Linked DNA regions of Homo sapiens: all the other regions are linked to region 3. Evidence: promoter capture Hi-C in 16 types of primary human blood cells and fetal thymus (Javierre and others, 2016). All regions are on one chromosome and are shown on one strand. The core of a region is centred on a gene start or on the middle of the fragment in contact, and the rest is flanking DNA. Distances in the headings are between cores, read along the strand shown.

The links. The method cuts DNA at HindIII sites, captures the fragments that hold promoters and counts their contacts. A CHiCAGO score of 5 or more calls a contact.
Region 1: a contact is called between a fragment that was not itself captured here and the fragment with the promoter of ERC2 in region 3, in 1 of 17 cell types (total CD4 T cells). The highest score is 7.6, in total CD4 T cells.
Region 2: a fragment that was not itself captured here is called in contact with the fragment with the promoter of ERC2 in region 3 in 1 of 17 cell types (total CD4 T cells); the score reaches 6.2 in total CD4 T cells.
Region 4: a fragment that was not itself captured here is called in contact with the fragment with the promoter of ERC2 in region 3 in 1 of 17 cell types (non-activated CD4 T cells); the score reaches 6.0 in non-activated CD4 T cells.

Annotation. Positions count from the first base shown.
Region 1 is chr3:57,069,308-57,076,145 of GRCh38, reverse strand. It overlaps SPATA12 (spermatogenesis associated 12), which reads right to left. Exons shown (of 2, transcript NM_181727.2): 2 at 714-2,780. The coding sequence starts at 2,451. The coding sequence ends at 1,879. It also overlaps a transcript of ARHGEF3 not described here. Among named protein-coding and RNA genes, the nearest start is that of SPATA12, 12 kb to the right of the region's middle. The HindIII fragment of the contact is 2,681 bases long and covers 255-2,935 here.
Region 2 is chr3:57,095,773-57,102,991 of GRCh38, reverse strand. It overlaps IL17RD (interleukin 17 receptor D), which reads left to right. Exons shown (of 13, transcript NM_017563.5): 10 at 403-513; 11 at 1,629-1,813; 12 at 4,454-5,396; 13 at 6,487-7,219. The coding sequence ends at 6,599. Among named protein-coding and RNA genes, the nearest start is that of SPATA12, 39 kb to the right of the region's middle. RefSeq lists an enhancer at 4,577-5,776. The HindIII fragment of the contact is 3,437 bases long and covers 3,700-7,136 here.
Region 3 is chr3:56,462,954-56,470,606 of GRCh38, reverse strand. It overlaps ERC2 (ELKS/RAB6-interacting/CAST family member 2), which reads left to right and starts at 2,140. Exons shown (of 18, transcript NM_015576.3): 1 at 2,140-2,359. RefSeq lists an enhancer at 3,192-3,486. The HindIII fragment of the contact is 8,117 bases long and covers 1,400-7,653 here.
Region 4 is chr3:57,018,646-57,025,606 of GRCh38, reverse strand. It overlaps a transcript of ARHGEF3 not described here. Among named protein-coding and RNA genes, the nearest start is that of SPATA12, 39 kb to the left of the region's middle. The HindIII fragment of the contact is 1,054 bases long and covers 5,015-6,068 here.

The DNA.
Region 1 (6,838 bases), core at 346-2,845, 610 kb before region 3:
CTGTATCATTCCTTAATCAATTTATTAAAGCAACCCTAGCTATATTTAAAAGAAAATTAATCCTTGGACCCATTTTCTTAATGGTTTGTACAAATATTCTTTAATTCATATCACTTCGCTTGCACAGGTTGAAAGTCAACTGAAAATAAGTTTTTTAATATATAATTCTAATCTATTGAGTCAGTTTCTTCATGGGATAGTATCAGCATGATGGGTGGAGTGAGGTCTGCTGTGGAGAGGTTTGGTGACAAGCTTTGCTTTCTTCTTTACTTTGATGAAAATTGTTTATTCAGTTATGAAAATGGGTACACATTTCTTTTTCTTTTTTCTTTTTTAGAGATAGGGTCTTGCTTTCTTGCCCAGGCTGGCATGCAGTGGCGTGATCTTGGCTCACTGCAACATCTGCCTCTCAGGCTCAAGCAATCCTCCCACCTCAGCCTCCTGAGTAACTGGGACTATGGGCATGCACCACCATGCCTAGCTAATTTATGTATTTTTTGTAGAGATGGGGTTTCACCATGTTGCCCAGGCTGGTCTTGAATACCTGAGCTCAAGTGATCATCTGCCTTGGCCTCCCAAAGTGCTGGGATTACAGGCATGAGCCACCATGCCGGGCCCATTTTTTTTTTTTTCTTAAAAAAAGAAGAAAAAAAAAGAGGACTGGCAAGACTGTTCCTAATTGAGGTTGTATTTACACATGTCTTAGCCACTTAGCTCATTTATTTCATTTATTCAAAAACATTTAGGGAGAGAGGGCTACTCTGTGCGAGGCATTGCCCTGGTACTGACCACACAGCAGTCAAAGAAACTGACAGCATTCCTCCCTTGTGGAGTTTACATCCCAGTGGTGGAGATGGACAGTAGACAACTAGATCAGTAATAAGATGTGAGGGAGAGTGGCCAGTGTAATGGAGATGAAGCTGGGGAAGGAGATCCAGAGTGATGGGATGGAGGCAGAGCTGGCTTCAGTCAGAGAAGGTCTTTCTGAGGAGATAGCATTGGAGCAGAAACCCAGACAAATGAGGGAGCAGCCTCATGGACAATTGCATGCAACCTCATTCCATGCATATGGAGCCCAATGTTGTGGTCAAACTCCCCAGTGTGGCCAGTCAACTCCTGAGCACTGGACATGGTCTATCTCACTGCAGAAGGGGAGGGAAAATGAGACAATGTAGGCAGAACTCTCCTCCTGCCCTCCAGGTCCTGGCAGGTGGCTGGAGTAAGATCTTGGCGTTGTGTGTTCTGATGGTCAACTAGAAGGCTGGTACCTACATTTACAGGGTGAGACCTGAGCAATGTGTTCTGAAACTGCCACCTGGGGAATGAGCATGAGCCTAGGGGTCATTGCTGGAGTTATAATCCTGCACATTGTAAGACTTGCTCCACTGCACCTACCCTGGCAGTGGACTCCTTCCTCTTCTATGTCATTTGATTACCTCACCTCATCACCTAGTGGCACTTACCCAGAGGGAAAGTAATTACTTAGCAGGCTTTGATAGAAACAATAAAGAGATGAAAATGTATAGGATCGGGGATCAGGAGATGCATGCCTCCCACTCTTTCATTGATTGATCGATTGATTGATCAATTGATGTCATTTAATACAGTGAAGGTTCCCCGGGGGCTAAGAGTATGAGATCTGGATTGTGTGACCTTGTGCCAGTAACTTAACCTTTCTGAATCTTGATTTCTTCATCTGTGATATTGGGGAAGTGTGACAGGGAGGCTTCTTGGAAAAAGTGATATCTAAGAAGATGCAGAAAGGGATGGCTACGAGTCACCCCTGGTGGGGGTGGGGGATGGAAGGGAGGGCATAGCATGTGCAAAGGCCCAGACAAACAGCTGCCAGACTCTCAGATGTTGCAGGATTATTATTGATTACAGATGTGTGTGTATGTGTGTGTTGGAGTATACTGTAGAGAGGGACCTGACAAAGCAGCCCTCAGTAAATGTCAGTTGGTTTGAACGGCTGCACCCTGTGCTACTGGGCTCGGCATCTATATCCTCACACAGTCTCCACAACCATCCTGTGGTCCTCTCATTATCCCCATCTTCCATACCAAGAAATTGAGGTGTAGAGTTATGAATAACTTGCTCACAACTGCCTTGCTGTATCAGGAGAGCTGGAGGTGAAGAGGGTCTTCCCAGAAGATTTATTTGGGATACAGCGATGTCAAGAGAGATGGCTGCTTGTAAATATCTCTGACAGGTCTCACTTTGGCACACATCCCCCTGAAATGTCAGCTCTGGGAGGGCAGAGGCTGCTCCTGGCAGGACACCTGGACCCTGGCATGATGCCAGTGCACAGTGGGGTTTGTTGGGATGTTGGGTGGATGACCCAAGGCCTCTGGGTGGCCATGGAACGAGTCTGGAAGAGTCTAGTGCCTTCATTTCCCAGGTGTCTCCTGACTTTTCTAAGGTGGACCCACAAGTCAGAGCAGAACTGGACATGGGGCCCAAGTCAAAAACAGAATTCTCCAGAAAAGGAGGCTGGGGCACTTGGCCGGAGCCAATCCCTGAGGAGCATGCAGCACTCTTGCAACCTGGCTCTGAGTGCACTGTTCCAATTCACCTTCAGCCACACCCCACCACCAATCATCCCGGGGTGCTCAAACAGAGCCAAACCCCACAGTCACCCAGATACTGCAGAGGTTTTCCCATGTTCACATCTTTGCTTCTGCTGTTTCCACTACTTGGAAGCTCTTTCACGCTTGTCCACTTTCACAGCTTCCCACGCTGCCCAACTCCAGTGGCTTTCTCTCTCTTTCCTTCCCTTTTGGCTAGAAACATAAATAAGAAATCCTGATTATATTCTTATTGAACATAAACGTAAACATATCAGAAGTTGTAGAGTTAAAAGTAATTACAGGTATAATATGCTGAGATATTAAAAAAAAAAGTAAAAAATAAAATTCCACCTTCCCCATCCCAAGCTTGCTTCCAGAGAGAATGTTTGTGATCAACTGGGCATAGATTTCTCTTGCTTTTGTTTACTCACACAGGCATGGGTACCTGTGAGTATCTTTGAAAACCAACATAATGGGCTCATTTTGTATGTATTGCTTACCAACTAATGTTTTTTCTTTTATTTATTTATTTTGAGACAGAGTCTCACTCTGTCACCCAGGCTGGAGTGCACTGGCATGACCTTGGCTCACTGCAACCTCTGCCACCCAGGTTCAAGTGATTCTCCTGCTTCAGCCTCCCGAGTAGCTGGGATTACAGGCGCCTGCCACTGCGCCTTGCTAATTTTTGTATTTTTTAGTAGAGATGGGGTTTCACCATCTTGGCCAGGCTGGTCTTGAACTCCTGACCTCGTGATCCACCCGCCTTGGCCTCCCAAAGTGCTGGGATTACAGGAGTGAGCCACCACGCCTGGCTTGTTTTTATTTATTTTTATTCTTTTTTTTTTTTTTTTTGACAGAGTCTCGTTCTGTTGCCCAGGGTGGTATCTCAGCTCACTGCAACCTCTGCCCCCCGGGTTCACGTGATTCTCATGCCTCAGCCTCCCTAGTAGCTGGGACTACAGGCATGTGCCACCACGCCTGGCTAATTTTTTGTATTTTTAGTAGAGACAGGGTTTTGCCATGTTGCCCAGGCTGGTCTTGAACCCCTGAGCTCAAGCAATCCTCCCACCTCGGCCTCCTGAAGTGCTGGGATTACGGACATGAGCCACCGCACCTGGCCTATTTTTTTTTTTTTAATTCTTTATTTGGCCTGGACAGTGCTAACAACTAATGTTTTCCCATTTAGTTATGTCCAAGAGTGTTTTCTTTGACCGTATACATTTCTCCTCTCTTTTACCTGCCCTGGCTCTTCCATTCCTCAGGGAAGAATATACAAACTTCTGTGGACATATGGTTTTATTTCTCTTGAATATATATCTAGCAGTGGAATTGCTAGGTATATGGTAACTCTTAACATTTTGAGGAACTGCCAAACTGTTTCCAAAGTGGCTGCACTGTTTTAAAATCCCACCAGCAGTGCACGAGGGTTCCAGTTTCTCCACATCTTCATCAACTCTTGTTATTATCCATCTTGTGATTATTGCCATCCTAAGTGGGTATGAAGTGGCATCTCATTGTGACTTTGATTTGCATTTCCCAGATGGCTAATGATGTTGTGCCTTCTTTCATGTGCTTATTGGCCATTTGTGTATCTTCTTTGGAGAAATGTATATTTGGTCTTTTATCTATTTTTAAATTGGATTATATGTCTCTTTATTATTGAGTTGTAAGTGTTCTTTATATATTCTGAGTTCAGTTCCTTATCAGCTATGATTTTAAAGTATTTTTTGCCCATTCTGTGGGTTATTTTTTCACTTTCTTGATGGTGTTCTTTGAAGTGCCAGGTTTTAATTTTGGTGAAGTTCAATTTATCTATTTTTCTTGGGTTTCCTGTGCTTTTGGTGTCATACGTAAGAAACCTTTGCCTGATGCAAGGTCATGAAAACTTATGCCTAAGGCATATTTTTTTTTTTTTTTTTGAGATGGAGTTTTGCTCTTTCACCCAGGCTGGAGTATAGTGGCATGATCTCGGCTCACTACAACCTCCACCTTCCGGTTTCAAATGATTCTCCTGCCTCAGCCTCTCAAGTAGCTGGGACTACAGGTGTGCATCATCACACCCAGCTGATTTTTGTATTTTTAGTAGAGACGGGGTTTCACCATGTTGGCCAGGCTGGTCTGGAACTCCTGACCTCATGATCTGCCCACCTTAGCCTCCCAAAGTGCTGGGATTACAGGCATGAGCCACCACGCCCAGCCATATGCCTATATATTCTTATAAGAGTTTTATAGTTTTAGCTCTTAGATTTAGAACTTTGATCTGTTTTGATTTGATGTTTGTATGTGGTGTGAGGTAGGGGTCTAGCTTCATTTTTTGCATATGGAAATCCTGTTGTCCCAGAACCATGTGTTGAAAAGACTCTTCTTCCCCATTAAATTGTTTTGACACTCTTGTCAAAAATCAATTTACTATAAATGTAAGCATTTATTTCTGCATTCTCAATTCTAGTCCATTCATCTATATGTCTATCCTTATGCCAGTATTGCTGTCTATACTGTCTTGACTACTATAGCTTTGTAGTAAGTTTTGAAATCAGGAAGTATGAATCCTCCAACTTTGTCCTTCTTTTTCTTTTTTCTTTCTTTCTTTCTTTTTTTTTTTTTTTTGTGACAGAGTCTTGCTCTGTCACCCAGGCTGAAGTGCAGTGGCATGATCACTGCTCACTGTAGCCTCGACCTCCTGGGCTCAAGCAATCCTCCCACCTCAGCCTCCCAAGTAGCTGGGACTACAGATGTGTGCAACCATACCCAGCTAATTTTTAATTTTTATTTATTTATTTTTGGTAGAGACTGGGTCTGGCTGTGTTACCCAGGCTGGTCTCAAACTCCTGGGCTCAAGTAGTCCTCCCACCTTGGCCTGCCAAAGTGCTGGGATTATAGGTGTTAGCCACTGTGCCCAGCCTGACCTTCTTTTTCTAGATTATTTTGGCTGTTCTGGATCTCCCTATGAATTTTAGGATCAGCTTGTTAGTTTCTGCAAAAAGAGACCTGAGATTTTGACAGGGGTTACATTGACTCTGTAGATCACTTGGGGAGTTTTGCCATCTTAACAATATTAACTGTGGAACCTAAATTCCTTTTTGCTGGTGGCACTGCTCACTCAGCTTCCCTAGTCATTGAGTCTGCTGAGTAGGCACTCTGAGACCCATCCATCAAACTGCACAGACAAAACTCCAGCGATGTAAATGTCTCTTTCCTTTTTGAAGAAAGTAACACAGTATACTGTAGTGTCTAATTTAAGGCTTGGGTAAGACATTTAACTCCTGAATTTGTGAAATGGGAGTGCATCTGGCACCTGGACACACATATGACAGATCTGGCTTTCCTTCATGCTAAGGATGGGATGGAGATCTCTAAGATACTCCCATAACCCCTTGCTTCATGCCTGGAGAAGTGTGGTGGGAACTGGGAGACCCCACAGCCCTGGAGGCACCAGGTGGTGATAGGAGAATTGAAGCCAGGCTCCATTTTATCTTGTTTTATCTGTTGGGCAAAGGGGTACAATTTCATTTGAGGAAAGAGTTCTGCTGCTAAAACAATCTTAGCCCCTCACCCCCAATTCACTCACATCATAGTTTGAAGAATGGAATAAAAATAAAAAGGGAGTAATATCACATATTAAAAGTTTAGTTTAGGCCAGGCGCAGTGGCTCATGCCTGTAATCCCAGCACTTTGGGAGGTTGAAGTGGGAGCATTGCCTCAGGCTAGGAGTTTGAGACCCGCCTGGGCAGCAAAGCGAGACTCTATTTCTATAAAACAATTAAAAATTAGTTGGGTGTGACGGCACATGTCTGTAGTCCCACATACTTGGAAGGCTAAGGTGGGAGGATAGCTTGAGCCCCGTTGTTTGACGCTGCAATGAGCTGTGCTCACACTAATGCACTCCAGCTTGGCGACAGAGCAAGACCCTGTCTCAAAAGAAAAAAAAAAGCTTAGTTTACACCCTGACATGTACTTATGTGTTCCAGATGTAATGCTTTGGCACAGCACAAATACATGATTTTATTTTCAAGAAAGAAATAATAAAAAATGGAGTGCCTATATTTGTATCACTTGGAACCTTGTTTTCTAAACTTAAAGAACAACCTGGGAAACTACATTTGAAACTTCAAATCCATTCATACCTCAACTCATCTGGGGTGAGGAGCTCTCATTTTAAACAAACAATGTGTGTGTGTGTGTGTGTGTGTGTGTGTGTGTGTTTGAGAGACAGAGATTAGAGTTATTTATTGCAGTTGTTTCAAAAAAGCAATTTAAAAAAGCATGAATTT
Region 2 (7,219 bases), core at 4,169-6,668, 630 kb before region 3:
GGCTCCTCTCTCTTAAATGATGTTCCATCAAATCTGACTTTTCTTCCATTCTAATGTTTATAACCTGGAAGATTAAAGCCAGTTTGGTGTGTGTAGCTCGGACTAGATAAATAGTCAATTGTCCTCTGAAGAAAAGTGGTGGGAGGGGAGATTTCCTTAGGCAAAATTCTCACTCAAAGGTATTTTATGTCCCAGCCTGACTCTTAACTGTTGAATTGTTCTTTGCAACTCTTTAAATATGAACCTTTGAATCCTTTTTAAATCACCAAACCACACTAGAGAAAGGTGGTTGCATGGTCCTAGAACCTGTTATGCGGCTTATGTTTAAAAAGAAAAAAAGTTGTTTCTCTTTGAACCTTTACACTGCTTAAGTTTAAAAACTTTCCCTTTGAAATTTCCCAGTGCACTCCCCGTGGGCCGGGCCCATCAGAGCCGTGGCCATCACAGTGCCACTGGTAGTCATATCGGCATTCGCGACGCTCTTCACTGTGATGTGCCGCAAGAAGCAACAAGGTATCTCTTTGTGTGCTGTGTCTCCCCACAACAAGGGGCAGGCCAGGGGGTGCTGCCAAGAGAAAGAGAGACTGGGAGTACCTGGGTCCTCCAGGATGGCGCCTGGGAAGCCTCATAGCTCCTACTATTCAGTTCCCAGAATTAAAATATTTGGCTTTTAACCTCAGGAGCCACTAAAAAAAACAGGTATCATTATATATCTGTTTCTTGGGACAGGGTCTCGCTCTGTTGCCCAGGCTAGAGTGCAGTGGCACAGTCATAGCTCACTGCAGGCTCGACTTCCCAGGCTTAGGCCATCCTCCCACTTCAGCCCCCTGAGGTAGCTGGGGACTACAGGCATGCACCACCATGCCTGGCTAATTTTAAAAAAAAATTTTTTTTGTAGTCATGGGGTCTCACTATGTTGCCTAGGCTGGTCTTGAACTCCTAAGCTCAAGCATTCCTCCTGCCTCAGCCTCCCTCTCATGCTGGGATTACAGGCATGAGACACTGCATCTGGCCCATAATTCTATTTTCAATGATAGGAGAGTAAATTCAGGGTCATAAAGGAAGCCTGAAGTATAAGTAAGGATATAGGTAGGGCTTGGTCATTTACAAAAGTCACCATGAGACAGCCTTCTGAGGAGTTGGAAATGATCCATAGCTTGGTCTGGGTGAGGATTACACAGTTATATACTTCCATAAAAATTCACTGAGATGTACACTTAAGATTTATGTACTTTACTTTTGTAAATTTTACATCGATAAAAACTTTTAAAAAAAATCAGCTCTGCCTGTGCTTAATTGGTCTACTAGGTGCACTTGGCTGCAAGAGCCAGTTCTGGGCACTCTGCTAACTAAGGTAGCGCTCTGCTAACCAGGGTGACCCCTGCAGCATTTCTTAGTTTATCCAAGATCAATTTCAGGTAAAGAACAATTTTTGACCATTCGTTGCTCCACTGCGGAAATCAGCTGTCCCATTCCAAGTGATGATCAGAGGGGGCTGATGGAGTTGGGGAATGGGACTGCTCTAGGTAGACGTGTTCTTTCTTGAAGATAGCACTGGGTTTCAATTCTTAGGAAATAGAACAAAGCGTTGCTTGCAAGTATCAACCTTATCTTCTTTTCCAATTTAGAAAATATATATTCACATTTAGATGAAGAGAGCTCTGAGTCTTCCACATACACTGCAGCACTCCCAAGAGAGAGGCTCCGGCCGCGGCCGAAGGTCTTTCTCTGCTATTCCAGTAAAGATGGCCAGAATCACATGAATGTCGTCCAGTGTTTCGCCTACTTCCTCCAGGACTTCTGTGGCTGTGAGGTGCGGAATCTAAAGTTCCTTCTCCTACCCTGGCCAGGACACTTGCCCTGTACTCTCTCCCCGCTGCCTTCTCCTCTCTTCTGGGCCTCCTGTGGTGACACCTGCCCTTGACTAGTGCCACAGCTTTCAAACTGGGGATAGTCTCGCACTCTTTTTTCAGTCTGTCTTACCCATCACCAGCACTAAATATTTCATAATACTTAGTTCTAACTCTGACAAACTCCTGCTCTAAAGCTTTGAGTGGCACCCACCTGGCAGGAAGTTTTGTAAGCATTAAGAAGACCAGTAGCTTCCGTGGAAACATGCAATTGGAGTTGAGGGGTGTCACTCATGACATCCTAGTGAGCATGTTCAGGACAGAAGCCCCACTTGGAGAGTCAAAGAGAGAGTGGCAAGTAAAGCAGTGAGTTCGCACAATTGTTTGGAGGAGTTCTGCTGAGAAGGGGAATGAAGGACGGGGCTGCCATTAGAGGGGATCTTGAGGTCCAGGGAGAAGTGATAAACGAAGGGCTCTGTGAAGCTGTTTGACCATTGACTGGTGGAATCATAGACAGGGAGAAACTCATGATGCAGGAGACGGCACTGGCCAGAGAGAACAGGGAGGTAGGAAGGGAGCACTCCCAGAAAACAATATTTTGTCAAGCACTGAAATGATCTGCTCTGGTTTCTTAGCTGTTCTCTTGAGTTATTAATATCTTATTAATATGCTTTTCTATAATGTCAGAATGTACATTTTTAGAGTGAAGTCTGAAACTCTCATGCAAGACATACCCTGTTTCTTGAAAATGCAAGAACTGTACAATAACTGTGTGATTGGAAGTTGTTTTTGCTTTGAAACTGCCCATTGGCATGTTTTTCAGAATCTCTCCATGTGGTGAGGCTGCCCCCTAGTGTCAACATAACATACTACGCTAGCCTAGTTTCCCTCTGCATGAAAGCGTGAGGTTGGTGGATCAGCACGTGCTGAAAAATAACTACACTCTAGCCAATGGCACACAGTTTTCAGATACCACGGGCAACCAAGTTTGCTCTACTTCACAAGTATTTAGCCTCTGGGGAAAACGCTCTTCCAGTTATTAGTGTAATAGTTATTGTAGAAAATTTGGAACTAGAAAAGGATGATAAATAAAACATTGTCTGGAATCCCAAACTGATTAAGGAAAATCTTAGAAAGAGGAACTCATATTTCATGTGTGGTTTATTTCCTTCCAGTCTTTTTCCATATAGGTGAACTCACACGTACAGTTTTGCCTTTGGGGCTGATTGAAATGATTTTTTGCAGTCTCTTAATAATTTTTTACACTATTAGTAGTTATATGTCAACTGCAATTTTAAATAGCTACATGATCCTCCATATTGATTTGCCATAACTGAGTTAATACAAATATTAAACATCTCAGTGGTTCAATATTGTCCCATTTGTGATGATTTCCCAAGAAAGATGCCTGGAAATGGAATTGCTGGGTCAAAGATAGAAACATTTAAAAAATGCTTGGTATATACTCCCACTGAGCTTTTAGCATGTGTAATGTTAACAAGAATTAAGGAAAGTATAAGACAATTCAGGGTTATTTTCAGCAAGTGGATGGATGTTGGGGCTTTTTCCCCATTGGTAACATCTTAGAGCAGAAGAGGAGAACAAAGTCGTTTCAGAATGCCCTTCCCTGTAAGATAGTGTGGCTGCTGTGTTTCGTCATAGCCATTGGGAATTAATAACTACAGAAGGAAAGACATCAACACAATAACCAAGAGATGTTTCTGGTAGAATTAGGTAAAAGTGGTCTGAGAAGGTGAAGTCCTCTAAGGGGCCACACATGTCTGATTTTTCTCTCCTTTGTCAGCCACGCCCACAGTCTCTCTACCAGACCGCCTTTGGGGGTAAAGCTTTGTCAATTACCAGCCTTGTAGAGATGTAGCCTTGTATACCTGTGTGAAGCCATAGAGGAAGGTGCTAGCCAGTCCTGAGTGAGTTACTCAGAATGACCATGTTAATGCAGTTCACTAGCCTCCTCTCCAGCCATGGACCAACTAGTAAACAACATAGGTGAGCCTGAGGCTATGAGAGTGTCGAGATAGGTCCCCTTTGTCAGTCACTGTCTGGATGTGAGTCACCTATAATTGTGGGTGACTGGCATCCAGGCCTGAGCCCCATCTCCCAGCTCACTTTGGAGTCACTCATCCACATCCTCCTCTCAGAGCCTGCCAGCCTTCTCTCCAGAATCTGCCCCTCCAATCTAGGCACCTCACTCACCAGATCAACCAACCTCAGTTTCTCTGTCCTGTGCTCTCTACCACCTGTTGCTTCCTTGAGGATATCCTATGTAGGGTGTGACTTGGGCAAGGTGCCAAAAGCACTGCGCTTCTGTCCCCTCACTTGTAGGGCAGGAGTGGTAATGACTCCATGTGATACAAAAATGGATGGATGGCAAGTTTTTGCAGAGGGACTAGGGTGTGACCATCACCCACGGAACTTTAGCTGTTCCTTGGTATGGTGTAACCTGGAGCCTGCACATAGCTGTGCTAATAAGGGTTAAGGGGCAGATGAGATGGCCTCCTTCTGACATTTCCCTTCCTGTTACTCACTTCCCGAGCCTCTTCCCGAGCCTTCTGTATGGGTGAGGTGCCTTGTTCTCTTTCCAGGTGGCTCTGGACCTGTGGGAAGACTTCAGCCTCTGTAGAGAAGGGCAGAGAGAATGGGTCATCCAGAAGATCCACGAGTCCCAGTTCATCATTGTGGTTTGTTCCAAAGGTATGAAGTACTTTGTGGACAAGAAGAACTACAAACACAAAGGAGGTGGCCGAGGCTCGGGGAAAGGAGAGCTCTTCCTGGTGGCGGTGTCAGCCATTGCCGAAAAGCTCCGCCAGGCCAAGCAGAGTTCGTCCGCGGCGCTCAGCAAGTTTATCGCCGTCTACTTTGATTATTCCTGCGAGGGAGACGTCCCCGGTATCCTAGACCTGAGTACCAAGTACAGACTCATGGACAATCTTCCTCAGCTCTGTTCCCACTTGCACTCCCGAGACCACGGCCTCCAGGAGCCGGGGCAGCACACGCGACAGGGCAGCAGAAGGAACTACTTCCGGAGCAAGTCAGGCCGGTCCCTATACGTCGCCATTTGCAACATGCACCAGTTTATTGACGAGGAGCCCGACTGGTTCGAAAAGCAGTTCGTTCCCTTCCATCCTCCTCCACTGCGCTACCGGGAGCCAGTCTTGGAGAAATTTGATTCGGGCTTGGTTTTAAATGATGTCATGTGCAAACCAGGGCCTGAGAGTGACTTCTGCCTAAAGGTAGAGGCGGCTGTTCTTGGGGCAACCGGACCAGCCGACTCCCAGCACGAGAGTCAGCATGGGGGCCTGGACCAAGACGGGGAGGCCCGGCCTGCCCTTGACGGTAGCGCCGCCCTGCAACCCCTGCTGCACACGGTGAAAGCCGGCAGCCCCTCGGACATGCCGCGGGACTCAGGCATCTATGACTCGTCTGTGCCCTCATCCGAGCTGTCTCTGCCACTGATGGAAGGACTCTCGACGGACCAGACAGAAACGTCTTCCCTGACGGAGAGCGTGTCCTCCTCTTCAGGCCTGGGTAAGGTGCCTTTGGGGCCGGGTCCTAACAGGCCGCAGCCTTTGACCATGCTTCTGAAATCAGTCAAAGCGTTTTTCCACTTTTGGTGCCAACTTATTGGGCAATGAAACCTGATGAGAACACAGCTCGTTTGGTAGTCTTGATTTATACCAGGTGATGGGAGTACTCACATGTTTGAGTTGCAGAAATACTAATGCTAAATTATAGTGAGCTGCCCAGACCCTGCAAGGGGTGTTGTGCCACATACAGACTATGCACTGTATCACTTTTCTAAACTCCAAAAACATCAGACACGAAAACACATTGGGCCCCAAGGGTCTTGGGTAACAGTTTGTGGATGCGTCTTTTTTAGACCTGTAATGTTCACACCCCCCGCCCCCATTGTCTTTAAAGCTACATTCATTGAGTCTGGGATTCATGGGTACAGTATTCTTTCTATCCTTCAGCATAGGGTCCCAGGTATGAGGGCTCTCTAGGAAGGCCTACTTCTGCAGGGAGCATCAGGTAGATGCCATCTCAGGCTGTCCCTTACCATGTCTGTAACTAGTTGGAGTCATGCATACAAACCCTTGACTTTTTTTTTTTTTTTTTGAGATGGAGTCTCACCCTGTCGCCCAGGCTGCAATGGCATGATCTCAGCTCACTGCAACCTCTGCCTCCTGGGTTCAAGCGATTCTTCTGCCCAGCCTCCCGAATAGCTGGGATTACAAGCATGCGCCACCATGCCCAGCTAAATTTTTGTATCTTTAGTAGAGATTGGGTTTCACCATGTTGGCCAGGCTGGTCTCAAACTCCTGACCTCAAGTGATCCCTCAACCTCGGCCTCCCAAAGTGCTGGGATTACAGGCGTGAGCCACTGCGCCCGGCCTAAACGCTTGACTTTTAAGAAATATCTCTTCCTTCCTCAACTAAGGGAACTAGAACCTGTTAGGAGGATGAGAGTGCCCCATCTTGAGTTGGTTGGGATTCTTGCCTCGTTTATACAGAGCCCATAGTCCAAACCCAGATCCAGTCACATTCTGCCATGAGCACCTGCCCAGCCCAGTGAAATGCAATGACAGTGTGACTCTGTACTCTCTTCTCTCCTTAGGTGAGGAGGAACCTCCTGCCCTTCCTTCCAAGCTCCTCTCTTCTGGGTCATGCAAAGCAGATCTTGGTTGCCGCAGCTACACTGATGAACTCCACGCGGTCGCCCCTTTGTAACAAAACGAAAGAGTCTAAGCATTGCCACTTTAGCTGCTGCCTCCCTCTGATTCCCCAGCTCATCTCCCTGGTTGCATGGCCCACTTGGAGCTGAGGTCTCATACAAGGATATTTGGAGTGAAATGCTGGCCAGTACTTGTTCTCCCTTGCCCCAACCCTTTACCGGATATCTTGACAAACTCTCCAATTTTCTAAAATGATATGGAGCTCTGAAAGGCATGTCCATAAGGTCTGACAACAGCTTGCCAAATTTGGTTAGTCCTTGGATCAGAGCCTGTTGTGGGAGGTAGGGAGGAAATATGTAAAGAAAAACAGGAAGATACCTGCACTAATCATTCAGACTTCATTGAGCTCTGCAAACTTTGCCTGTTTGCTATTGGCTACCTTGATTTGAAATGCTTTGTGAAAAAAGGCACTTTTAACATCATAGCCACAGAAATCAAGTGCCAGTCTATCTGGAATCCATGTTGTATTGCAGATAATGTTCTCATTTATTTTTGATGTAGAATTTACATTGCCATGGGTGTTAAATAAGCTTTGAGTCAAAAGTCAAGAAAGTGACTGAATATACAGTCACCTTTTATGAAATGAGTCTCTGTGTTACTGGGTGGCATGACTGA
Region 3 (7,653 bases), core at 891-3,390:
TTTTCAGAAAACTAAGTCCCAGAGAGGATAAAGATGACTTGCTTAAGATTCCTATAACTTCCACTCTTCGTTTTACTATGTAGAGTCACTTTCTATTTAAAGTAATTATTCTTAACTTTTCTGGGTCAAGGACCCAATTTGAAAGAAATCTGTTGAGAACCATGAATCTTCTCTCTGTGGGAAAAATGTACATAAGCATGTACATAATAAATTGATCCCCTGAATGTCAAGGGTTCCTTTTAAAACCCACGGATCAAAGGAAAAGAGAATGGGTGGCCAACCAGAGTGAACCTCAGGCATTGATTTAAATAAATTCTTCATGGGATCACCCTGGTATGTTACCCAACTTTTCTGAAAGTTGGTAAACATCTTATAGAATATTTGTGAGAATAGTTGAGAAAATGTAAGTGCCTGCACAGAGGGGGGTACTAAAAAATGTTGGCCACGTTTCAAAAGATGTGGGATTTTAGGAATTCTCAAAGGACTCTCAACAAGGCTCTCATATACAACAAGCCTTTTGAGCAGAGGCTGTCAAGGATGTATGTGGGGAACAAAACACAATAGGTGGAGCTTGGTTTTGCCCCTGGAGCATCTAGGTCAGGAGAATGAGTGTTGATTTCTCAGAGAGAGAAAGAAGAGGATGAGGGCAAAGAGAGTCTATGAAAAACCTTAGCTACCAGAGGTGTACAGGCTTAAGGAACAGGCATTTGGGCTGGAACAGGAAGGCATCCTTGTCTCTCAGAGTCTGATTCCCTGAGCAGGAATCATTTAATATTTGAATTCCGGCGGGGCGCGGTGGCTCACGCCTGTAACGCCAGCACTTTGAGAAGCTTGAGGTCAGCGGATCATTTGAGGTCAGGAGTTCAAGACCAGCCTGGCCAAGATGGTGAAATCCCGTCTGTACTAAAAATACAAAAATTAGCTGGGCGTGGTGATGGACTCCTGTAATCCCAGCTGCTCAGGTGGCTGAAGCAGGGAATTGCTTGAACCCAGGAGGCAGAGGTTGCAGTGAGCTGAGATGGCACCACTGCACTCCAGCCTGGGAGAAAGAGCAAGACTCTGTCTCCAAAAAAAAAAAAAAAAAAATTGAATTCCTATCGGGGAGGAAAGAAGGATCCATCCTCTAATCGCTGTACTAATTCTATGCCTCTGCGCACCCAAACATCCCATGGCTGGATTTGCTTTATTTGTCTGAGCTTCCCAGCAGGAGAAATTTAGATCTGGCCACTGAAATTGCTGGAAGCAGACTCATCAGGACAGGAAGGAAATGACTGCTCTATCCCTGCAAATTGACTACTCAGTGAAAGAGACCAAGTTTAAAGATGCCCATGGCTATCCCAGTACCCTCCCTAATATAAAATGGCAGCAGCTGGGGCTCCAGACTTGTTGAGTGGAAGCTTTTTCCAATGAAAAACTTGTCCAAATCCTCTTGCTCATTACCTTGAGGTGTGTGTGTGTATCTGCCTGTGTGCGCGCGTATCAACTCAGACATCATCTTTCTACCTTAAATTGGGACAATGCAAGCACATTTCAGGGCACAGAAGAGGCACCCAGTGAATATGACGGATGCGATCTTTTCTCTTGTTCCTGTCTTTATCTTTCATTCTGTCCTTTCTTTGGGGGAACAATAAAGTGAAGATCTTATGAAATTCTTTCAACCTCCTAAGGAACATTAAAGCTGATGGACGGTGCCAGGGTATGGTAACCACGACCCCTTACTCCAATGCTTAACTTAAAAGATAAGTGCCATCCCTGCCCCTGTCACCAAAGCCACCTGACAAGTTCCCAGTGTGCCTGGCAGCTTTTGGAGGGGGGTACCCGGGAAGGGGCGTCGGGGATGGAAGATTGGGGACAGGTGCTTCGCGCCGCGGCCTGCCGGGAGGAGGCGCTGCGAAGACCCCCGCCCATGCCGGGCGCTTTCTGCTGCCCCCAGCGGAGGCGCCCGGGCCCCAGCCCCGTCCCCCCTAGCGGCTCCTCGGGAATGCTGGGAATGTGAGTCAGGGCCTCTGCGAGCGGGCGAGCGTGCCGGCCGGCCGGGTGGGGGCCCCGCCGAGCGCAGCGCCTGGCAGCGCCGCGCGAGCGCGCGTCTCGGGACTGCGGCGGGTGCCGCCCCCTCGGCCGCCGGCCCCGCCCGGCCCCGCGCCTGGCCCTGGCCCTCCGAGCAGTGTCCTCCTCCTTCCCTTCTTTCCTCCCTCCCTGTTCCCCGCCCCGCTTCTCCTCCTCTTCCTCCGCCTCCCGCTCCTGCTCGCTCGGTCTCCGGCTCCGGCGCCGGCTCCTGCTCCTCCTGGCCGCCCGGGGCCAAGGCGACGAGAGGTTGTAAAAATCCATGTGGGACGGCCCCGGGGCGAGCATCGGAAAGGTGAGACGCCGACGCCGGGGCCGGGGCCGCCTGGTGCCCGGCTCCCTCGGGGCGCCCGTGCCCGGGCATTCCTCGTGCCGGGTCCCCCTCGCTCGTGGGGAGCTGCAATGCGTTATCGTGGGGAGCCTAAGGGTGAACCATCCGCCTCCTACGGGGCTTTCTTGGGCGGGGGGAGGGATGGGGCGGCCTAAGGGAGGCTTTGCCCTGATGTATAAACCCCCGGATTGGAACAAGTGCACGGTTTCCTCCAGCGCGCGGGCGCCGCTCGCTAGCCCCGGCTGCCCGGGCCACCTCCCGCAGTCCCTCTCCGGCAGCCACCCTCACTGCCATCGCCTTTCTTCTCTCAGATCCCCCTCTTCTGCCTGGCGTCCCCTCTTGCCTCGAGGGGTGGGGTGTTCGCGGGGTCGGGGGTCTTGAGCAATCCTAAGCAGAACAAAGTGGAGAAAGGTGGAGCCCCCGCCCGGGGGTGGGGTGGCTGGCCGCCTGGGTGGGTTCAGAGGGGAGCATATTTTTTTTTAAAAAACCCGTGTCAGGGAAAATGAAGCCGATTTATCGGGGAGGGCTAGGGGATGGTGTATGAAAAGGAATACGATGTGAAATTGAACTGAACGGCATCCCTTCTCTCCTCCTCCCCATCTCCTAATTATACAAAAAAAGGGATACTTACGAAGGTGTACCTAATTAAAAAAAATACCGTACGAGCCTTTGAAAGATCGTCTTAGGACAGTGAAGATTAAGAGCTGCTTTGGTTCGGGGTAATAAAATAGCGCTCGTAAACTCTCCGTTCGGCCCTGCCTTATTTATTTTGTACTTAAGGGTCTCTGTTCTCCTTGCCAGAGAGGGAGGGTCCGCTCTTTTAGGAGTGGATCGATTTTAGGCGGCTACCTGCCTTTGCTGTATGAAAGGCAATTTACTCCCCGAGCGGTGAATTGTCGGTTCCCTCTGTGATTGACAGCCACACCTGCCACTTACGTGGGTAGAATGGGGACCGGTGGAACCCAAAGAACCAATCAATGCTCGGGAGAGGAGGGCAGCTCCCACTTGTCATGGTTAGTTTCCTGGTTGGCTCTTTAAATCAGTGATTTTACTTAACCATTGGTTTCCACCTGGTATGGGGATACAGCTGTGAGAGGCAGACAAGCGGGAAGAAAACTCTTTGAAAATGGACTTTTAGAAGCAAGTATATTTGACCTGTGTTTCCTTGTCCTCCCCATCCCTTACCCACCACCCCCCTGATTATTAGTTGTAGTAGTTGCGGATGCCGAGGCCACTGGCTTAAAAATGAAAATGAATCTGTGTAAAGAAGGAATTGGGGGAGGGGGTGTTAGAATTGCCCACCTATTTCTCCAGAATTGCAGTCTTTATAAGAGACAACATGTACCGTTGAGCTATCCGGGAAAAGGGTGTGGCACTTTGTCTCCTATGGTCACTCTTGTCCTTGTAAAGTCACATTGTTTCTCAGTATACAGTACTTGGGGCTTGGCTCTACTGGATGGATTTATAAGGTATTTTTGGAGCCGGCAAACGTTCTTTATGGGGAGTCACATGAATAGAAGGGATTCTTTTAGTTCTGACAGTTAACTCAACTTCTGGAAGTGAGGGCTGCCTTGTTCTCTTTTGCAGAATGTCAGTTCGGTGGTGGTGGGGTCAAGCCATTTTCTTTCCGGGGAGTAGTAGAGTTTGCCTTTTTCTCATGTAAGCCATCTTGTCTGTTTGCTTCTGTGCTTTAATAAAATACTTTTACAGTTTTGGCAGGGAGGGGTGTGGAAGGTGATGGTGTCATGGTTTTCACCAGCAAGACTTTCACGGGTGGATGAATCATGGGTGAAGGACCAGATCCATCTCAACTCACTACTAGTGAAAGCCTGATTTTTCAACACCCTTCTCCCTGAATTCATTAGAAAAATTACTGATTGATCCAAAGAGCTGTCACTTTATAGAAGTTGTACCTGGATGTGAACATAATTCTGTGAATTAAGCCTTTCATAAACAGACTGTGAGCCAGAATATACTGATTAGAATGGTTTTCATGTAGAAGCCGGGTTTGTCAAAGCAGTATTATTACTATTACTATCATCATCATTGTTATTGCATAGGCAAGCACTTTGTTGAGTACTTTATATGCATTATCTTTTTTAAACCTTGTGGAGCCCCTGTGAGGTAGGTACTATTCTTACGCCCAAATTATAGATGAGTAACTAGAAGGAATTCAGTATCTTGCCACAGTTTAGTATGAAAGCAAGAACCTGAGCCCGGGTTCGTCTTACCCAGAGCCCATGACCTTGGCCGTGGCCTTGACTTCAAATTTTGGTTGTGTAGTCTGCATGTGTCCAGTCTGAAGTGTGGGTTCTCCCAGCATACGTAGAGCTAACCATTTTAAGAGTCCACTGTGATTCTGACAGTCCTTTTATCAGCCTGTTTTGCCTTTGCATTTGAAGGCTGTGGCATGGGCCAATAGGCAAATTTAGTAACTCTGTTTATTATATATTTCCAGTAGAAACATAATAAAATATAAAAAATATAACACATAATAAAATAAAAATTTTGGCTCGATAAAAATTTGGTTCCAAACTTAATGATGATGACTTAAAAGAAGGTAAAACAAAACAAAATTCACACTCTTCCATTTTTCTTGACACCTTAAATTTCCAATTAGAGTTTTAAATAGATCTTGGTTGAATAAATGCTCTTAACATCCTTCAGTTGTCTCCCCACCAAGGGATTAGGGTTTTATTTTCTTTGTTATTTACAGAGACCCTTTTCCATTAGTGATTAGGTATAATGATATTTAAAATTATTCTTTTGTAATAGCATGACCGTCTTGTTTTATTTTATTTTTTATTGTTTTTTGAAATGGAGTCTTGCTCTGTCACCAGGCTGGAGTGCAGTGGCGTGATCTTGGCTCACTGCAATCTCTGCCTCCCGGGTTCAAGTGATTCTCCTGCCTCAGCCTCCCAAGTAGCTGGGATTACAGGTGCCCGCCACCATGCCTCTCTAATTTTTGTATTTTTAGTACAGACTGGGTTTCACCATGTTGGCCAGGCTGGTCTTGAACTCCTGACCTCAGGTGATCCTCCTGCCTTGGCCTCCCAAAGTGCTGGCATTACAGGTGTGAACCACCATGACCGGCCCCTCTTGTTTTGTTATGTTGGAAAAGCTACAAGATGTAAGCCTTATCAGTCTCTTCCCATTGGTGAAACTCAGTGGTGAAGGTTTGCCAAAACAGGTATCCTGAAAAATAAGGTGAATGGTATTGCAGTCCACAAATTTACCTAAAGAGTCTTTGACTTTGGTTAGGTTGACTTTTGTACAATCTGCATTTGCTTGTTTTACTAGGACACCCTCTAGCCTTTTTTTTTTTCTTTTTTCTTTTTTTAAAATCCTCTAACCAGTTAACATTTTGGCTGGTCCGTGGGGCATCTACTTGCCAGCCAACAGTTTCAGTTTCAGCAATGTTTACACTATTCCTTTATATTTTATTGTGATTTTCTTAGTTTAGAAAGATAGGATGAATGGAAAGCACAGAAAAGCACCAATATTCATGGTAATGTAGATCTCATAAATTTAAAATAGTTGATCCAAAGGTAGAACTCACTGGATGTACAAAACATGGAGACTCTACAACCTCTTCTTCTTATGTGAAGAAAAGGAACAAAATGAATGAAGATATAAGACATGCTAACATATATCAAATGATAAGATATATTAGTCAGCTTTGGCAGTGTAACAAAACTCCCTGACTTACAGCAACAGGTATTTATTTTCACACTCATGGGTCTTCAGGTTGACCGTGATTTGGCTGGTATAGGTTGGGCTCCTTGGGGTGGCTGTGTAGAGGCTGTGGGTTGGGTTCCAGTCTCCTCCACATGTGTCCTGGGGCCCAGGCTGAAGGGATGGCAGCTACCTGGGGCATGCTTTTCTCCTGGCAGATCACTGGAGCCAAGAGGCAAACTACACGAGCAAATGTCACTTTCACTAATAACCTGTTTTGGAAAAGTACTATTTTGGACAACACTTGTCTGTAAACGTAGACTCTGTTCACAGTAAGGGAGCGAATATTTGATGAACTATCATCCAGCTTCCAACAGCATGTAAAAATTATGGTTAGAGGATTTTCTAATTTTTTCTTTTTCTTGGGGAATGCAATTTTCATCCCCTCACTCCCATTGCTAGCTGCGTGACATATAAACCTGGTCCTTAACTTCTGCATTTCAGGAATATTCTCTGTTTGATTTTAGAGGGCTGGCTATAAAACAGGTTTGTGTATACACATGAATTACTTAAATTATTAAGGCACTATTTATTAGAACCTACTGTGTTCCAAGAGACAATGTTCAGTGCAGTGGTGAACACAGTTTTATTCTGATGTGGGTCCTGCCACCATGAAACTTATCATTAGGAATAGGTGTAAGGAAGGACTTCTTGGATGCAATGGCATTTTCCTGGACCTTAAAGCAGGGAGAGAGTTGGAGATGCAGATAGAGCAATGGATACCATAAAAATGTAGGGGCACACATGGATATAATGAGTTATTCCACTTGGCCAGAGAGTAAGAAAGGTGAATTACAACAACAATAATAATTATAACACTAGTATTTATAGCTTAACTTCTATTGGGCAGTTAACTATGTGTTAGGCACTGTGCTTAGCACTTTCCATAAGATATTTAATATTGGGTAGGCTTGCTGGTTGCCTACCCAACATTCATTTTCTCCTTTCCAACTAAAAGAACCCCAATTTTGTCTGAGATGGAAATAAGCCCACCTCACCTTCCCAAGACTCCCTTGGACTTAGAGTGGCCATGAGAGTTGGGTCTGATAATGGCATAGGTGGAAGTTTTTGGGTGGAGGCTTTCCTGAAAATGTAGTGAGTGAGACACACGTGGGTGGTATACTCCAAGAACTTTTCAGCTCTTTAACTTCTTGCTGCTGAGATCATTGGTGCAATGCCTGGAGGGGCAGCAGCCAACTACAACAATGAAGATAAAGCCATGGTTTTTGTTTTTTTTTGTTTGCTTTTGAGACAGGGCCTCACTCTGTCACCCAGGCTGGAGTGCAGTGGCACCGATCTCAGCTCACTGCAGCCTTGACTTCCCCGGCTCAAGTGATTCTCCCACCTCAGTCTTCCCAGTAGCTGGAACTACAGGTGCGCACTACCATGCCTGGCTGATTTTTGTATACTTTTGTAAAGATGAGATTTCCCCATGTTGCCCAGGCTGGTCTTGAACTCCCGAGCTCAAGTGATCTGCCTGCCTTGGCCTCCCAAAGTGCTGGGATTAGAGGTGTGAGCCACCA
Region 4 (6,961 bases), core at 4,292-6,791, 550 kb before region 3:
GGGTTAGGGCAAATGAGTTTCTGAGGGGAAAAAGCTCAGACTTGTAGCATTTGCCTACTTCTGTAAATACTCCCACCATGGCCAACTTCAACATGCTAACACAGAGTCACTGAGATGTGTGCAATCACTCTTCCCAGTGTGTGCCAACTTCAGCAACCCACTGCATTAGGGCTAGAGTCTAGCCACTCCTCTGAGTGCAGTTTCCTCATCTCTGAAGTGAGCGGGTGGGACTAGGTCACATGAAATTCCTTGGTAAATCGTGGATCATTGTGTCATTGTAAAGATGGTGATGGTTTTTCACAGCTCTGAAGTTTTATGACTAATACTGTCTCCTAACTCTTCTTCAGGATCCAGAGTCCCTCCATTGCTCCGAAACCCCTTTTCCTTTCCCTACTCATCTCGGCCCATTCCTGGCTAAAGCACTGTATTTGATAATTTCATCTCTTTAGTCTCCTTCGATCCAGAACAGATCCCTCCTTTATTTTTGCCCTCCATGGCACTAGCGTTTTGAAGAGTCAGATCCACGTTCTGTGTTTGTCTAGGTGTGTCTTTGCGGTGCCATTTACCTTGGTCCTCCAGTTCCATGAACTTCAAGTGAAGCCTCAAGGGTGGAGTCCAGGTGCAGCATTTGCAGTGAGAGGCCCTCGTGGGTGACATCACTCCAACGTCAGGATAACCCATGCTGGTGTTGCTCAGTTGACACGCTGGTGAAGGCATTAGCCTGCATTTGTTTTGTTTTAGATCAGATTGAGATATTATATTGACCATAATTCTAACAACTATTAACAAGGATAAGCATTTGTAATAAAAAACTGCTCTTGGCCGGGCGCGGTGGCTCACGCCTGTAATCCCAGCACTTTGGGAGGCCGAGGCGGGCGGATCATGAGGTCAGGAGATCGAGACCATCCTGGCTGACGTGGTGAAACCCCGTCTCTACTAAAAATACAAAAAATTAGCCGGGTGTGGTGGCGGGTGCCTGTAGTCCCAGCTACTTGGGAGGCTGAGGCAGGAGAATGGCGTGAACCCGGGAGGCAGCGCTTGCAGTGAGCCGAGATCGCACCACTGCACTCCAGCCTGGGCGACAGAGCGAGATTCCGTCTCAAAAAAAGAAAAAAACAAAATTGCTCTTACCCTACACAAAGTGGATTTTTTTTTGTTTTATTACAGAAATAAGCCATATACAGGTATAGCTCTGATTTTTTTTTTTAAGATTGTCAAGTAAAATTGAATCTGTTTGCTATTGGCCTTCCAGGTATGGTGGCTAAGGGAGATATTTCAGAGGCAGCCCCCTACTTTTTTTTTTTTTTTAATATCTTTCCTTCTTTTTGATAGATCCAGGTCAAATTGGAGTAGAGTGTTCTTGATGTAGGAAGCTTCAATATTCTGTTTATAACATTAGGCAGGAAAGAAGATTTCTGCAAGGTTAGAATGTCATGGTGGAATGGGCACTTTGGGGAGTGGTGGGTTCCCGAGTGCTGTGTGTATGCAAGTGTAAGCATGTACCTGTGTGTTGCTGTTTTCTCAAGGGAGTATGAAGGGTGCATTGGGGTGCCCAAAGCAGCATCAGATGTGACACAAAGAAACCAACCCCATGCCAATTTGGAGAAGGCATGATTTAAATTAAAGTCAAGGAAGTCTATCTCGAGTGTCTACTCAGTGCCGGGGGCGTTGTTCTGGGTGCTGTGAATGGCACAGGCCGACTCTTGTGAATCTTATAGTACAGGAGCACACAGACCTAAACAAGCTATTCCCAGGGCAGTGAGCATGTGACAGGGAAGTGTGAGGATCTGTAGTCCCTTTGGGGTGGACCTAACATTCCCCGTGGGAAGTAGCAGACAGAAAATGGAAGCATCTGTGAGGGATAGCCAGGTAAAGAGCAAACCATGTGGAAGGGGCAGTGTGTGCCAAGGTCCGGACTCCACAGAGATGTGATGTGCCGGAAGCAAAGACAGCATCTCAGTGAGACTGGATCATGTCATATGGCAGGGGCCTGGGAGTCCTCTGGGCTGGGAACACTGGGTCCTCTTGGCCTTGGTAGTAAAGAGCTTAGACTCTGTCCTAAGGGTCCCAAGAGGCCACTGAAGTGTTTTAAATGGCTTCTTAAATCTGATTAAATCTGCATTTTGAGAAAAGATCTCTGGCTAGAGTGGGAAAAAGATTTGGAGGGAAGCAAAACTCAGGGCTAAGTAACCAGCTGGGGGTATTGTAGCCATCCAGGAGAGAGATGATGGAGGTCATAAATACCTGTTGAGAATAAGTGAGTGGATAGCTTGGATAACCAATGGAGAGAGGTGAACTCATGAAAAATATTCGGTGGTAGAATTGAGAGTGGATCTGGGGACTGAACAAATCCATCCATCCACCTATAAAACTAACATCTGTTGAGCCCCTTCTGTGCATCTGGGACTGTGTTTGGGATAGGGATACTGCAGTGAATGAAGCGGATGTGGTGGTCCCTGCCCTGATGGAGCTTACCTTCTGGTGAGAGAGACAGACCATAAACAGATGTGTGAAGTGGCATTAGCTGGTGGTGTATGCTGTGAGGAAAGATAGAGTATGTGATAGGGTGAGCATAAGCAGGTGGAGTTTTACATAGAGACACAGGGAGAGCTTTTTTGAGAGAATAACATTCAACATAGACCTGAATGTTGAGAGAGCAAGCCCTGCAGCCTTCTTGAGGAAAATCATGGCAGGCATCAGGGACAGCATGTGCTAAGGCCCAGGGGCTTAGCTTGGACAAAGAATGGCATTCAGGTCAGTACAGATGTGGGTGATGAGACGGTCATACGTGTGGATCAGCCTGATCAGCCTGCTACTGCGAGTCATGTCTTGAAAGATAGGTCCTCTCTTCCTTTGTTGGCAAAAAACAGGGTCCTCCTAGGCTTCCCCAGGTGACTGGACAGGGCAGTCTCGGGAGATTGGTTCCCAGTCAACAGAGATGGTTGAGCCTAGGCAAAATAAGTGCCTGGTTGGTAGTGTCTATGTTTGGGTACAGCTGTGAGTTTCAAGCATGCCACCAACATTCACACAAGTAGAGAAGAGGAAATGTGGCAGAGCACAAGAAGGAATGTTTTTCTGGAATAATCATTTATGTTAGCTGGATCACCAGCATGTATTCATGCTTCTTTTTTTTTGTATATAGGAAAGCTATTGATTAATAACTTTTTTTTTTGAGACAAAAATGACATTCAGATCAGTACAGATGTGGGTGATGAGATGGTCACACGTGTGGATCAGTCTGATCAGCCCTGCTATTGCGAGTCATGTCTTGAAAGATGGGTCCTCTCTTCCTTTGTTGGCAAAGACAGGGACCTCCTGGGCTTCCCCAGGTGACTGGACAGGGCAGTGTCTGTTACCCAGGCTGGAGTGCAGTGAGGTGATCATAGCTCACTGCAGCCTCAAACTCCTGAGCTCAAGCAATCCCCCTGACTCAGCCTCTAGAGTAGCTAGGACTACAGACACATGCCACCGTGCCCGGCTAAATTTTTAAAATTTTTTTGTAGAAACAAGGTCTCATTGGGTTACCCAGGCTGATCTTGAACTCCTGGACTCAAGCAGTCCTCCTGTCTCAGCCTCTCAAAGCGCTGGGATTGCAGGCTTGAGCCACCATGTCCAGCCAACTTCTTTTATTCATGTTGATTAATATTATCTAGTTTTCCTGTTTGCTCTAATAGTTTTGCAGATCTTATTTTATTATTACTATATTTTTGTAGGGAGGGATTTTTCCAGACATATAATTGTATCATCTGCAAATTAATACAATTTTGTTTTCCCTTCCTTTCTAGTCAGTATGACTTTTTTTGTCTTCTAATTGGATTGGTAAATGCTTCCTGAATAAATTTTTTTTTTTTTTTTGAGATGGCGTCTTCCTCTGTCGCCAGGCTGGAGTGCAGTGGCATGATCTCAGCTCACTGCAACCTCTGCCTCCCGGGCTCAAGTGATTCCCCTGCCTCAGCCTCCCAAGTAGCTGGGGTTACAGGCACGCACCACCATGCCTGGCTAATTTTTTGTATTTTAGTAGAGATGGGGTTTCACCATGTTGGCCAAGATGGTCTCAATCTGACCTCATGATCTGCCTGCCTCGGCCTCCCAAAGTGCTGGGATTACAGGTGTGAGCCACCGCGCCTGGCCGCTTCCTGAATAATGTTAACTAGCGGTGGTATGTAGAGTTCCTCTTGCTTTGTACCCACTTCAGTGGGAGTGCGCTAATGTTTCCCTAGGAGATGTGATGCAGGCTTTCAGTTTGAGCTTTATATCTCTTAAGGAAGTTTCATTCCATTCTTGTTTTGTTAAAAGTTTCTTTTTTCAATCAGGAATATATGTTGGAATTCAACAAGATTGGCATCTAAGGAGACATCTGTTTTTGTTTTTTCTTTTGACTCTGTAATGAGATGAATTATATTGATAGATTTCCTAATGTTGACCCATCCTTTCATTCCTGGGGTGAACCACAGGTGTCTATGTTTGGTTACAGCTGTGCTTTTCAAGCATGGAGCTACTTTCTGTCATTTAAATTAGTACTCCATGAAGATGTACTTGGTTTATCCTGTGGCTTAGAGTAATACTGACAGGATAGCTTTCCTTCTGTTTGAGGCATTGAAGCTAGAGGAAATGAACAAACCATTCATCCATTAGACCAACTTACATTTATTGAATGCTTATTATCTGCAAAATGCTGCTGGGTGTACAGCCACCAGTATCCCTTATAACTAAGAGACTTAGGATTCTATGCAGTGGTTCTGCTAGGAAATGTTATTGCAAGTGACAGAAATGCAGTTCATTCAGGATCAAGCTCCATAGGGAATGTAATGGCCCACAGGAATGGAAGGTCCGACAGTAGATAGCCTCAGGCATGGTGGGATCCAGGGGCTCAGTGTCGATTAGGCCTTGCTGTCACTCTGCCCTTCTCTTGGCTCTGCTTTCTTCTGTGTTGAAATCATTCTCAGGAACGTTTCCTCCCTGTGATACCACCAACTCCAGGCTGGCATTTGACTCCAGCTATGGAGTGAAAGCTTATTCCCACTTGTTCCAGCAGAGCTTCCCGAGTGAACTCAGATTTGTTCACAACGTGGGCTTCGTGCTCTCTCCTGGAACTCTGGAACTCGGGGGTGGAGGATGGAGTCAGCCTCATCTGAACCCATGGATGGAGAGTGAGGGAGGGGTGGTCCCCCAATGGGAAGGCCAGGTGCTGTCACCCACACACAGGGAATTGGATGCTGGGTGGCAGACACCCCAGATGTTCATGCCATCTGGGCCAGCGATCCCCTTTGTGGTCTTCACTGTCCTTTTTCACAAGTGAGAGGGGAGGTGGCAGGGAGCCATGATTCCTGACTCAGCCCCAGGACCCTGCAAATCAGTGACAGCATCAGGATTTTAAGTCCCTACCTGAAGTTTCAGGCTTTATTTGCTCCACTAAATTAGGCATGAAAACCTGAAATCCCAGCCCTTGGGAAGGCCAAGGCAGGTAGATCACTTGAGGTCAGGAGTTTGAGACCAGCCTGACTAACATGGTGAAACTCCGTTTCTACTAAAAATACAAAATTAGCTGGGCGAGGTGGCGCTCGCCTGTAGTCCCAGCTACTTGGGAGGCTGAGGCAGGAGAATCACTTGAACCTGGGAGGTGGAGTTTGCAGTGAGCCGAGATTGCACCATTGTACTCCAGCCTGGGCAACAAGAGTGAAACTCTGTCTCGTTCATAAATCAATCAATCATGAAAATAGATGGAAATAGAGAGTTAAGGCATCATCCGTGCACCTTGAGGGTTGATTATTAAAGAAAAGATTTCCCCAAGCTCACCCTTACCCCCAGCCTCTCAGCCACATATAATAATCCTTCTTGTCAATTCCTTATTGTTCCCTTTTCATAATGAACTTAGAAGGTAGATGCCTTTAAAAAGGTGTCTTGGATGGGATGTTACATACTTAATATAGAGCCTTTATAGTAGCAAAGTTTTAATTTGACAAAATCTTGCCTGATCTGATGTGGCATCTCTTCAAATAGTATTTTTTATTTTAATTTGATTGAGGTGTAAATATATCTGACACACATGCCAACTTAAGGGACAAGCTTTTCTGCATATGTTTACACCTCCTGGGATCAGGTGTAGCACTTGTTCAAGCACTCTGCCCCCATTCCAGCTCCTTTCGAGCCCCCTTTCTTTCCCTCCCCTCCTCATCTCCTCCCTAGGAACACACCGAGGCTGAGAAAGACTGTGACTTTCTTGCCATTGCCTACCTGGGTGCACACACTTGGGTCCAGGGAAAAAATAAGAAACCTGATCCTGAAGAATTGTGCCGGGAAGGGAGGTGGGAAGCGTCCATCCATGGAGGAGAAATGGCCACCTACAGAGCCCTCTGGGAGTGCCCTGGTCTACCTGAGACTCAGGAAGTCCCCCTTGCTCTCTTGTTCCTCTTTTATAAATAAAGAAACCAAGGTCTAGAGAGATAAGTGATTTGTCACAGTTCACCCATCCAGTGATGTAGGCTGGAGGCCAGGAGGATGGTCCTGGTTTATGGGCCAGCTACCCACTGTGGTCCTTGCTACCCAATGAATCCAGGTGGCTTAACATTGGACTCGGTCATTCTCATCCCTCATTTCATGATACTGTTAATTTTTTTTTTTCTGGAAAATCTTGAAATTCTGCGAGAGATGGCATATATAATGGAAAGAATACAGATGCTGGAATCTGACATTCTTGGCTTCAAATTCCTTCTTTGTTTTATGACCTTGGGCAAGGATGTTAACTTCCCTGAAGCTCGATGTCTTCATCTGTAAAAGGAATAATATTAGCACCAACCTCATATTATTGGTTGTGGGGATTAATGAGATGATACATGTCACATGCTCAGCACACTACCTGGCAGATACTGTCTTTAAATGGGAAAAGCCAGGTTGTGACTTTTTTGGTGTGGGGAAGGTGAGACACGACATAAACGTAAAGCATCACAACCTCCCCCAAATG